Linked DNA regions of Homo sapiens: region 1 is linked to region 2. Evidence: promoter capture Hi-C in human tissues and cell types (Jung and others, 2019). All regions are on one chromosome and are shown on one strand. Each heading gives the region's core, a stretch centred on a gene start or on the middle of the fragment in contact. The rest is flanking DNA. Distances are from core to core; before and after follow the strand shown. Region 1 holds the start of LFNG (LFNG O-fucosylpeptide 3-beta-N-acetylglucosaminyltransferase). Region 2 holds the start of INTS1 (integrator complex subunit 1).

What was found. Contacts are between HindIII fragments. The study calls those that stand out against the background at their distance.
Region 1: a contact is called between the fragment with the promoter of LFNG here and the fragment with the promoter of INTS1 in region 2, in 1 of the 25 tissues and cell types used here (lymphoblastoid cells).

The regions. Positions count from the first base shown.
Region 1 is chr7:2,518,524-2,523,646 of GRCh38, reverse strand. It overlaps LFNG (LFNG O-fucosylpeptide 3-beta-N-acetylglucosaminyltransferase), which reads right to left and starts at 3,873. Exons shown (of 8, transcript NM_001040167.2): 1 at 3,354-3,873. The coding sequence starts at 3,785. RefSeq lists enhancers at 158-670, 1,537-1,596, 1,637-1,766 and silencers at 3,698-3,807, 3,818-4,347. The HindIII fragment of the contact is 23,923 bases long and covers 1-5,123 here.
Region 2 is chr7:1,502,144-1,508,118 of GRCh38, reverse strand. INTS1 (integrator complex subunit 1) reads left to right here and starts at 3,730. Exons shown (of 48, transcript NM_001080453.3): 1 at 3,730-3,796; 2 at 4,118-4,216; 3 at 4,928-5,218. The coding sequence starts at 4,159. RefSeq lists enhancers at 1,446-2,041, 2,227-2,416, 2,042-2,638 and a silencer at 3,525-4,084. The HindIII fragment of the contact is 17,901 bases long and covers 1-5,975 here.

The sequences.
Region 1 (5,123 bases), core at 2,624-5,123, 1.0 Mb before region 2:
CGGGGCCAGGAGTCGCCGGCGCCCGCCTGGGCCTGCCGGCACACGGGGAGGAATGTTCCTTCCTCTGCCCGGCCCGCCCAGCGCGTGCCGCCCGGCGCACCCTGGCATGGCTGAGTGCAAAACCCAGGGTGTACGGGCAATGCTCTGACCAAGGGACAACCCCCTGATGCCCACCCAGCCTCAGTTTCCTTCCCTGTACACACAGGTCCCGCAGAGGCCCTGGAACACCTTGGTAGTCTCAGATCCTTATCCAGCCTGACCCAGCCCTGGGCACATGCTCACTAGGGTGAGGCCCAGAGCTAAGGGGGTGGCAGGCTGGGTCTCCGCCTCTCCATGCATGCACCCCTCCTGCAGCACCCATAGACACCCCAGGGCAGCCACACGCACAGACTCGCACCCAGCCCCTTGGCCTCCCCAGAATCTCAGCCCAGGAATGCCGTGGGAGGCGGAGGGCCAGCCCCTGCAGACGCTCCACTGCGCCGCTGGGTTAAAAGGAAAATGCTTTCTTAATGAGATCAAGGGAGGCCTGTTCTCCCGAGATTTGGTGGTGCCCTAAAAACCCAGCCCAAGGCTACGGAGATTAAAGTCACCTTTGTTCAGCTCAGGGAGCAGGGAGGCCTCTAGAACAGCATCTGAGAAGGCGGGGCTATGGGGTGCGGGGGTGCCGGTCGAACTGTCTCCCGACACCTGAGCCACCAGGAGGGGAGGAAAAAGGCGCTGCTGGGCTATAGGCCTCACCTGCCGCTCAGAGCCTCAGTCTCGTCTTCAGTAAAATGGGCATAACAGAGCTCCCCTGGGCAGAGAACAAAGTGCAAAGACAGATTCTCTCCCTTCCTCTCCCTGACAGCCCTCGGAGGTGGGTGCCATTACCAGCTGAGGCCCAAGTGGGGAAACTGAGGCCCAGAGAGGTGCAGGCACCAGCCTGAGGTCATACCCTGGGGCCGAGGCGGTGCTAGACCAGCCCAGTCCCTGCCTTCTAGGGACCCAGACCCCCCAGTGCCACCTAACTTTCCAGACGAAGACGGGGCTGCAGGAGGAAGAGCCGGGTGGATGAGGGTGGACGGGGGCGGGGGCCGGGGGACACCCACAGGAAGCAGCATTGTTCCTGGAGCCGCGATTCAAAGAAACACAGGATGCCAAGTTCTCCCCAGCAATTGTGGCCGCTGTGGTGGCAGCGCGGCAGCCTGGCTGCTCCTGGGAGGGGCGGGGAACCTCTGGGCCAAAGGCCAGGCTCTTCATCCTGGACTCCAGGCCCATCTCAGCGCGGCCCCTGCTGACCAACCGACCCTCCCCCCAGCCACCACTCCAGTTGCTAGAAGTTTCCTGCACAACCCCCATGCTGTGGTCATCACCATGCCCGGATGGAGTGCCCTTTCTGGGCACTTTTTTACTCTTAGTCTAGCTCAAATGGCGCCTCCTCCAGGAAGTCTTCCCTCCTCCCTCCCTTCCCCCAGCATGTGGGTCAGATGCCCACTGTTGCCTCACACAGCCTCTCGGGGTTTTCCCCCCGCACAGCCCTGACATCTTTCTATCTCCCCCATCAGACCATGTCTGAGTCATTCCGTGCAGGGCTGGGAGAGGGGGGCCCTCTTCTGTGGGTTTCCAGGACCCCTGCCCATCACCCACCACAAGGGGGTCTTTGCTTGCTGTGTGCTGGTGAACTGATGCTGAGGGCAGATTCAACCTGTCCCCTGGTGGGGTGACCCTCCAGTAGGGACCTCAGGGCTCAAGGGAGTGATGGCCCCCACCTCGACCCTGAGTGCCCGCCGGGTTCACCCCATGCCTGCAGGCTTTGCCAGTCTCTTACAACGTGCTCCTGGAAGGACCATGTTCCCCCATTTCAGAGATCAGAGTGAGGGTCTGAGAGGCCCCAGGTCTTGCTCAGGATCACACAGCCCAGCCCTCTGACCACATCCCCTCTGTTGGAGAAAGGCCCCAAATTCCAAGATGAGAGGTGCTCAGAGCTGGTGGTAGCCCAGAGTGGGGCTGAAGGATGCCCAAGATCACATAGCAGTAAGGCTTGAGTGCTGGGGGTGGGGGGGCCAGGCTCAGGGATGGTGCCCCAAAAGGACTGTCAGTAAGAGATGCTGGGGGGGCCCGCTGGTCCCCTCATCGCCAGGCAACCTGAGTGGCCAGCACGCCAGCAGCGGTTCCCACGGAGCGCGTAGCTGCACACAAGGGGCCCGACGCCTTTCTCGCTGGAGAAAGGGGCTTTGTTACCTTGCCCAAGGGGCCGGCGTGAGAGCCGCCCGGCGCTGGGAATCCTAACGGCCCGGCCGCCAAACAAAACCCACGGCCCCCGCCGCCCCCTCCCGCCAGCCCGCTGAGCCCCTGGGAATGGGACGCTGTGTTCCCAGGAGGCTGCCATGGGGTTCCCAGGGCCCCTTCCCCACGCCAGGACCAGGGAGGACCCTGCCCCTCCCCGTCGCCCTCATGACCTCACCAAGCCCTGCTCCCACCCACCCACAGTGCCCCAAAACAGGACAGCGCCAGGTCAGAAGGCCCTGGGTCTCCGGGGTTTGAGCAGGGAGGAAGGCGTGCAGGGTCTTCCCTGAGCCCCCACCCTCACAGCAAATGCCTCTGCATCTCCCAGCCCAGAGACACCCCCCCAGTCCCCGACTGCAAGCCCCACACACTGTCCCCATCCCGCCCCAGCCCAACCGTCCTGCTGTGGCCTCGAGGGAAATGTTCAAAGTGGGGTGTGTCTTAATTATGTGTGTGTAAGAAGCTGATGCCCAACTGAAGTGGGCTGTGCCCAAGGTTGCAGGCCTCAGAGACTACTGCACTGTGCGGGGAGGGTCCCCACACAGACCCCAAAACCTGGAGTTCTTTGAGATGTACTCCCCAGGACCCACCAACCAGCAATGACTTCCCTCCCTCCCCGTACCTTAACACTGTGATGAGGAAAGGGCCCAGAGGTCAGAACCCCTCACTTCTCTAAAGGAAGAGCCTTTCTCCCCAGGAAGGGGTCTGAGCTGAGGGTGGGTCCGAACAGAATTTGCTTGTGGAAGTTTGAGGACATAATGCCCTATGAATGCGCTCCAATGTTTACGGGGTGAGAAGTATCACAGGGCACCAACCCCAAGCACTGGAGACTGGTGTAGGGTCCTGCAGCCATCCAGGACTCTGGAGCTGGACAGGAGGCGGGGCCCCGGGGACAGTAACACAACTGTAACGGGAGAGTGGCCCCAGCAGGCAAACTGGGTGCACCGGGGTGCACTGGCGTCGCCCACAGATGGCCCTAGTGGCTGGATGGGGATGCAGCCTGACTCCCATGGGACACTGCCACCAGCTGGACCAGATGGTGGGTCCCCGCCCCGCTCGCCCGCCAGTCCAGGCCGCGGGGGGCTCACCATCTCCTTGTGGCGCGAGATCCAGGTCTCCAGCAGCAGGTCGAGGCGCGCGCGGTGGAACTTTTTGGTGGTCTTGACAGCGATGAAGACGTCTCGGGGCGCGAGCGGCTCGGCCAGGGGGCGCGGGTGGCCGTCGGCGGGGCGGGGGGCAGCCCCGGGCGGCGGGCCCGCATCTCTGCGCGCGCGGGTGAGCAGGCTGAAGTACTCGGACAGACTGTGCACGTCGCGGACCAGCGCCCCGGGCGCCGCCGCCGCCGCCCCCAGCCCGGGCGCCGGGGCAGCCCCCGCGGGGCCCGCCAGGCTGCGCAGCGCGCGCCGGCCGCGCTCGGCGGGCAGTGGAGGCGGCGGCGGGTCGGCGGTGAGCACCAGCAGGCAGGCGAGCAGCGCGCCCGCCAGCGCCAGCAGCAGGCGCCGGCCGCAGCGCTTGAGCATGGTGGGGTGGCGGCCGCGCGGCGCGCCCTTCCCCGTGCGCCTGCCTTGCACCGACCCGAAGCCCGTCGCTCCGGCGGCGCAGTCCAGCAGCGCAGCACCAGTGTCCCGCGCTCTTAAACCTCCCCGCCCCGGTCCCGCCCCCGTGCGCTCATTGGCTCCCGGGCTCGGGGGCGGGGCCTCGCGCCGGTCGCCGCTCCACGCCCGCAGACCCACGTGGGGCCGCGGCTGGGGGCTGGGAACTGCCCAGAGGGCGCAGCGGCCCCGCCCCCGGCGCGCACGTGCACGCCCCGCACCCCCCCCGCCCCGGGTAGCCCCTGCGGGCCGCCGAGGGGCTTGGGGACGGGCCCGGCCCGCGCCGGTGTCCCTGAAGAGGAAACCCAGCCTGGCCAGCGCCGTCCGGGGATGCACCGGGCGTCCCGGCACGGGAGGGGCGCGCCCTCGGCGCAGCGGGCAGGGTGCTGAGACCCGGGCTCTGGGCTCCGACGCACCGCGGGGGACATCCTACTTCCTCGCTGTGCGCTTCCCCTCCTGAGCACGGCTTCCTCCCCTTGGGACGCGGCAGGCCTTGCAAACTGGGGTGGCGCCTGGGTCTTCCCGAGCGCTCGGTTCAGGGGAGCCGTTATTTGTACAGAGCAAGAGCTTGGCCACCTGTGCCGCAGGTGGGGACACGAGGTTCTAACGAGAAAGCACCAGAACCAAATTCCACTCCTTCCTCCCTGGCTGATTTCCTCGATCCTGGCCCTCCGTCGGGAGGGTTGGCTCCCCGAAATCCTCAGGCGCCCCATGGCGAGGAGAAACGAAGGCCGCCACTTCCCTCGCCGGATGAAAGGCCGCCTTCTGTCCCATTTGGTCTCCTTGCGCTCGGGCCAGATGCGGCCCAGCTGTGCGCCCTCCCCACCCCGCCTCCCCGGCACACGGCCCCCATCCCCGGCCCTTCCCACGGGCCCGGGCCCGCCCCTCGCACGAGCGGGGGCGGCAGGAATGCGCGCCGGCAGCCGAGGGTGAGGGGCGAGGGGCCCGGAAGTGGCCAAGGGTCGCCTGAGCAGGGTGTGAGCCCCCTGCCCGCCACGTCCTCCGGAAGCGTGGACGGAGGCGGCTCTGCCCGTGGCTGCGCTGTCTTCCCGTGCCCTCCTAAGCAGGGTCTCTGCGACCACCACGACCACCACCGCCACCACCGTGGCTAAACTGCCCCCCTCGGAGTTATGTTCACGCCTGAGATGGCATTTTAAATTCTTTAAGTGCCCTTGGAGCCCCTCTCCTTACCTCTACCTGAATGTCAGCCGCAAGACAGCAGCGACCTGGTGTCATTCAGACCTGGAACAGGTTTTGGGACATAGT
Region 2 (5,975 bases), core at 2,481-4,980:
AAATTAAATTTCTAATAATTTTTTTTTTTTTGAGACAGAGTCTCACTCTTGTCGCCCAGGCTGGAGGGCAATGGCATGATCTTGGTTCACTGCAACCTCCGCCTCCCACGTTCAAGTGATTCTCCTGCCTCAGCCTCCCAAGTAGCTGGATTACAGGTGTCTGCTACCATGCCCGGCTAATTTTTGTATTTTTGTAGAGACCGGGTTCCACCATGTTGGGCAGGCTGGTCTTGAACTCCTGACCTCAGGTGATCCACCCGCCTCGGCTTCCCAAAGTGCTGGGATTACAGGCGTGAGCCATCGCGCCTGGCCATAAAAAATATTTTCAAAAAGTGAGCAAACAATTTGAACAGACACCAATAATGCAGATACACGGATGACAAAAAAAGATGAGAAAACGCTCATCATTACTCATCAGGGAGACGCCGATGAAGAGCACAGGGCAGACCCTGCACACCCCCCCAGGATGACGGAACGCCTGTGGTCCTGCCCGGGCCATCAGTGGAGAAGCCATCCTTGGAATCTGGAATCCATCTGGCGGGTGCTACTCAGCAGCTGACAGAAGCCACCGATGCCTGCAACGCTGGGGTAAGTCTCAGAATAATGATGCCAGGCCGGGCGCGGTGGCTCACGCCTGTAATCCCAGCACTTTGGGAAGCCGAGGCGGGAGGATCACGAGGTCAGGAGATCAAGACCGTTGTGGCTAACACGGTGAAATCCCGCCTCTACTAAAAATACAAAAAAAAAAAAAAATTAGCCGGGCGTGGTGGCCAGCGCCTGTAGTCCCAGCTACTCGGGAGGCTGAGGCAGGAGAATGGCGTGAACCCAGGAGGCAGAGGTTGCAGTGAACGGAGATCGCGCCACTGCACTCCAGCCTGGGTGACAGAACGAGATTCCATCTCAAAAAAAAAAAAAGAATAATGACGCCGAGCAGCTGGCCAGGGAGCGTGCACTGTGTGCTTTCATTCACACAGACTCCAGAAGAGCAAACAGCGCCTCTCCAGGGACAGAAAGTGGCGCCCTGGCGGCCTGGGGACAAGTCAGGGGTGGTTTGGGAATGTTCGTTACAGGGTTGAAAGGGATGGGGGATGGGGCCACAGGTACGTGTGAATGTCAACACGCATCAGTGTGCACCCTTTACACCCTTTACACACCTGCAGTTTATCAGACGTCAATCATAACTCAAAAAAGCTGTTTTCAAAAAGAGGCGGGGAGAGGGAGGAGGAAGGCAAAGAGGTAGAGGAGGGGGAGGAAGAGGAAGAGGGGAAGGAGACGGAGGAGAAAGAGAAGAGGGAGGAGGAGGTGGTCAAGGTTGACTCCTGAGTTTTTAGAGAACGAGGAAGACGAGGAGCAGGAGGAGAGAGAAGGGGGAAGAGGTGGTCAAGGTTGACAGGAGGAGGAGGAGGAGGAGGAGGAGGAGGGGGAGGAGGGGAGGAGGGGGAGGAGGAGAAGAAGGGGAACGAAGGGGAGGGGGGAGGGGGAGGAGGGGGAGGGGAAGGAGGGGAGGGGGAGGGGGAGGAGGAGAGGAGGGGGGAGGGGGAGGAGGGGGAGAAGAAGGAAGGGGAGGAGGGGGAGGAGGAGGGGGAGGGGGAGGGGGAGGGGGAGGAGGAGGTAGTTGTTCTCAAGGTCGACCCTGAGGTTCTGGCCTGGGCCCGGGTGAGGGCATTTGCCGAAGGCACAGGCCCCGCATGCAGGGGCGGTGATGCTGGTCAGAGGATGAGGAGAGGCAGGTGGCGGGGCAGAGGAAGCTCTGTGCAGGGTGCTCCCATTCAGGTGACAGGAGGAGGAAGCATTACCCCATCGGATCTCCCCTCCCCTTAGAGAGTTACCCTGAGGGACAGATTGAGAAACTGTAGAGGGATGAAGCCGCACAGCCCCCGCCTGGCGTCCGGCAGGGATCCGCGCCTGACCGGCCTCTCCTCCCATGGGCACCACGGACGTCTCCTTCCGGACTCGCTGCCCACACAGCGCAGGGTGCAGGGCCCTGGAGCCCTTGGGGTCCTGCGGGGACCCAGCTGGTGCCCACAGGAGTGGAAAGAGACCGTGGCGGGTCACACAGCAGTTCTCAGGCTGCAGCCTGGGGCCATGAGCCTCACTGAGGCCACAGTCAAATGGCCACACCCAACTTCAGGGGCACAGGGAGACCAGCTCTGCCTTGCGGTCCCTGGATGAGGAGATGGGACACACCGGGCAGGCGGTGCTCAGGACTCCCTCGGTGGCGGGGCAGCGTTCGAGTCAGTGCCCTGCTGGGAACAGATCTCCAAGATGTGGTTAAGTGGCAAAAGCCAGGTGCAGAAAAGAGGAGCCGTGCGCTACCTGCAGGGTGACAAGGCAGAGGGAGGCACACGGGTGGCTGCCTGAACGCACACGGAAAAGCCGGGAACACAGGCACAAATCAGAACACAGGCTGACTCCAGGGGAGGGGACCAGCTGCTCAGGGGTCAGGGGAGACCTTCGACCCTTTGACTGGATGATTCCCCCACCTTTTATTTTTATTTTTTTTTAGACAGGGTCTCGCTCTGTCGGCCGGCTGCAGCGTAGTGGCACCATCATAGCTTACTGCAGCCTTGACCTCCCAAGCTGAAGAGATCCTCCTACCTCAGCCTCCTCAGTAGCTGGGACCGTAGGCATGCACCACCATGCCTGGCTAATTTATTCTTGATTTTTGTTTGTAGAGATAGGGTCTCACTATGTTGCCCAGGCTGGTCTCAGACTCCCACTTTGGCCTCCCAAAGGGCTGGGATTAGAGGTTCATGCCACCATGCCCAGCTAATTTTTATTTTTTTGTAGAGATGGGGGTCTTGCTATGTTGCTCAGGCTGGTCTCGAACTCAACCGATCCTCCTGCCTTGGTCTCCCAAAGTGCTGAGATTACAGGCATGAGCATCACACCTGGCAACTGTATGATCTTTTGTGTCTTTTGAGTTTTGTTCCCATCAGTGTTTCCATTAAAAAAAAAAAAAAAAAGGCGTGGGGGCGGGGCGGGCGCAGTAATTCCAGCACTTTGGGAGGCCAAGGCGGGCGGACCACCTGAGGTCAGGAGTTCGAGACCAGCCTGGCCAACATGGTGAAACCCCGTCTCTACTAAAAACACAAAAAAATTAGCCAGACATGGTGGCGGGCGCCTGTAATCCCAGCTACTCGGGAGACTGAGGCAGGAGAATCGCTTGAACCTGGGAGGTGGAGGTTGCAATAAGCCGAGGTCGCGCCACTGCATTCCAGCCTGGGCGACAGAGCGAGACTCCGTGCCAAAAAAAAAAAGAAAAAAGAAAAGGGTGAACTTTGTGGAACACGAGTTCTATCTCAATAAAGCTATTATTATTATTATTATTATTATTTGAGACAGGGTCTCTCCCCGGGAGCCCCCCGGGCTGCGCCCCCTCGCCAGTGCCTGCGCCCCGGCCGCCCCCGCTCTCCGGGACGTGCAGAACCTGCCACTTGACTCATCCGCGGATCCCTGACGCCACTCCTCCCCGCCGTGCGTCCTGGAGTGCGTCCCTTCGCAACGCCAGCACCACCTGTGAATGGAGAGGCCAGCGCCTGCCCCGCGCCGCCGACCCACCTGGACCGGACCACATGCGCGCGGCGCCGGCCAGCCCGCCTCCCGCCGCCATGGGGCGCTGCAGGCATCAGGCCGGCGCCGCGGGCCTCTCGCGCCTCCTTCTGGGCCCGCTTCCCGCCGCACTGTTTTCCTTCCGGTTGTTCCGGAAGTCGGGTCCTCGAGGGCGGTGAGATCGGTTTCCGATTCCGGGGTGGCCGGGTGGCGGCGGCGGCGCTCCGGTCGCGATGGGCCAGAGGTAAGTGAGCCGCGGCCTGGGCGCTTCCTCATTGCCGGGCGAGCGCCTGGTTCTCCCGGCTACCGCTCCCGGCCTCTGGGCCGTCCCTTCTGGTTCTGCCGCCTCCAGCCCGGCGTCCGCGTCGCCTGCTGCCGCCCGACTGAGCCGCTCCCGGGCGGCTGGGAGGCGGGGTCCCTGCAGCTCCTGCAGCATCGCCCCGCCGGGCGGGCGCGGGACCACTGTCCCCGGGTCCCAGGCCCAAGCCCCGTGCGGCAAGGGAGCGAATGAGCGAGCGAACGAGCGAATGAGTGAAGGAATGACCGCACGCTGGCTCCTCCGCAGGTGACGCCGCAGCCGCCGGGAGCCGCGAGGGACGGGGCAGGATGAACCGGGCCAAGCCCACCACGGTGCGCCGGCCCAGCGCCGCGGCCAAACCCTCAGGTGCGTCTCCCTCCTCGCTCTGCAGCCCGGGGGTCTTTGGGGGTCTTTGGGGGTCTTTGGGGATCTCAGCTGCCGCGGATCCTGCGTTGGGCTTGGTTGTTCCGCAGCCGCGGCTGTTTCCAGGAATTCGGTCTGGAAACACTGCTCTCGGTCCTCAGCGGCTCTGAGAGTCCCTGGGAGGCTTGGGACAGTGGCGACTTCCTTCGGGACCCCGGTGATCTCGTTTCAGGCTGAGCTGCAAGGCGGCCGACAGTAGCGGAAGGTCTCCCCAGCCAGGAGGCGGGAGGCAGCACAGTGTAGCGTAGCACGGGGTCTGCGGCTGAACTGTCGGCTCAGATCCTCCGGACTTTGCCACTCGCCTGCTGTGTGACGCTGGGCACGTCGCTTAACCTCTCTGTGTCCCTTTCTCTCTTGTAAAGTTAGAGTAATAGCACCTATTGCGGAAACTCGGGGCGGGGGTTACTAAGCACACTAATTTGGATAGACCAGAGATGGCCTGGTTTGTGGTTAGCGCTACGTGACTGTCCACCATCACCTGTGCGTATCCTGCTGGTCCCAGCTCTGCTGTAGGCTGCTGAGTGAGCTCTGGCTTCTTCCTTGCCTCCTCTGACCCTTGTTTAATCCCCTCTGACATAACAGGAGGTTAGAGTCAGTCTTTTTCCATCTTGGGTGTTGCAAATGTGCCCGGTTTTCTCTCTCCTTTCTCTGCAGGGCACCCTCCCCCAGGAGACTTCATTGCTCTGGGCTCAAAGGGTCAGGCCAATGAATCGAAAACGGCGTCCACCCTGCTGAAGCCAGCCCCTTCCGGCCTGCCTTCTGAGCGCAAGCGGGATGCGGCGGCCGCGTTGTCCAGTGCCTCGGCCCTCACCGGTCTCACCAAACGCCCCAAACTCTCCTCCACACCCCCTCTGAGTGCCCTGGGGCGCCTGGCTGAGGCTGCAGTGGCAGAAAAACGAGCCATTTCTCCGTCGATTAAAGAGCCATCTGTGGTGCCAATTGAAGGTAATGAGTCTGTGGACATCCCCCGAGAACACCCCTCAGCTCATGCCGTCCATCAGGTGTTCAGGGAAGGCCCCCTCCAGGCCTAGTGCTGCCCGTATGGCCGAGGTCCTTTGGGAGAGCGGATGTTTGTGGCTTGTTCTTGGAAGTGCTTCTCACGTAGATGCCCTTATCCCGTGTGTGCATCTGCGTCCTGCACTGCCAGTGGCTGCCCTTTGAGAACCGGGTCACTCCCTTATTGAGTTGTTTGTCTCATGTGTCTGTTGGACGCCCCCTTTGTGACGGGCACTGTCTGAGCCCTGGGGGTAAACCGGGCGTGACGACACCCCAGGTGTCTGTTCTCAAGGTTGCCCATCCTGGTGCGTTCCTCTCTCAACCTGAGCGGAGGCGATGTGTACTTGGTTCCTCCTTCCCTCCTGGTTACCAACAGAGAAGAGTTGATCCCCTCCCTGTTTTCAGTTGAAAAGCAGCAGAACAGTAAGGACATCAACGGGGGAATGTAAGCTTCACCACTGTCCCGTTCTCGCAGAAATGCCTTTAACTGTGTGCCTAGAATCGCCCCTGCCCCTCTGCGCCATTTTCCCAACGACCATTTCTCAAGGCTCCGTGACTCCCTGGGAGTCGCTCTGGCAGCTATCGCACCAGCCCCAGCAAGCCTCATGGTCTGCAGTGTTTTGTTTCTGTGGGAGCATCTCTTTTGGGTAATTTCTTTGTAGGAGTCAAAAAGAACAAGTGTCCTGATGACTTTGGTAGTGAGGTG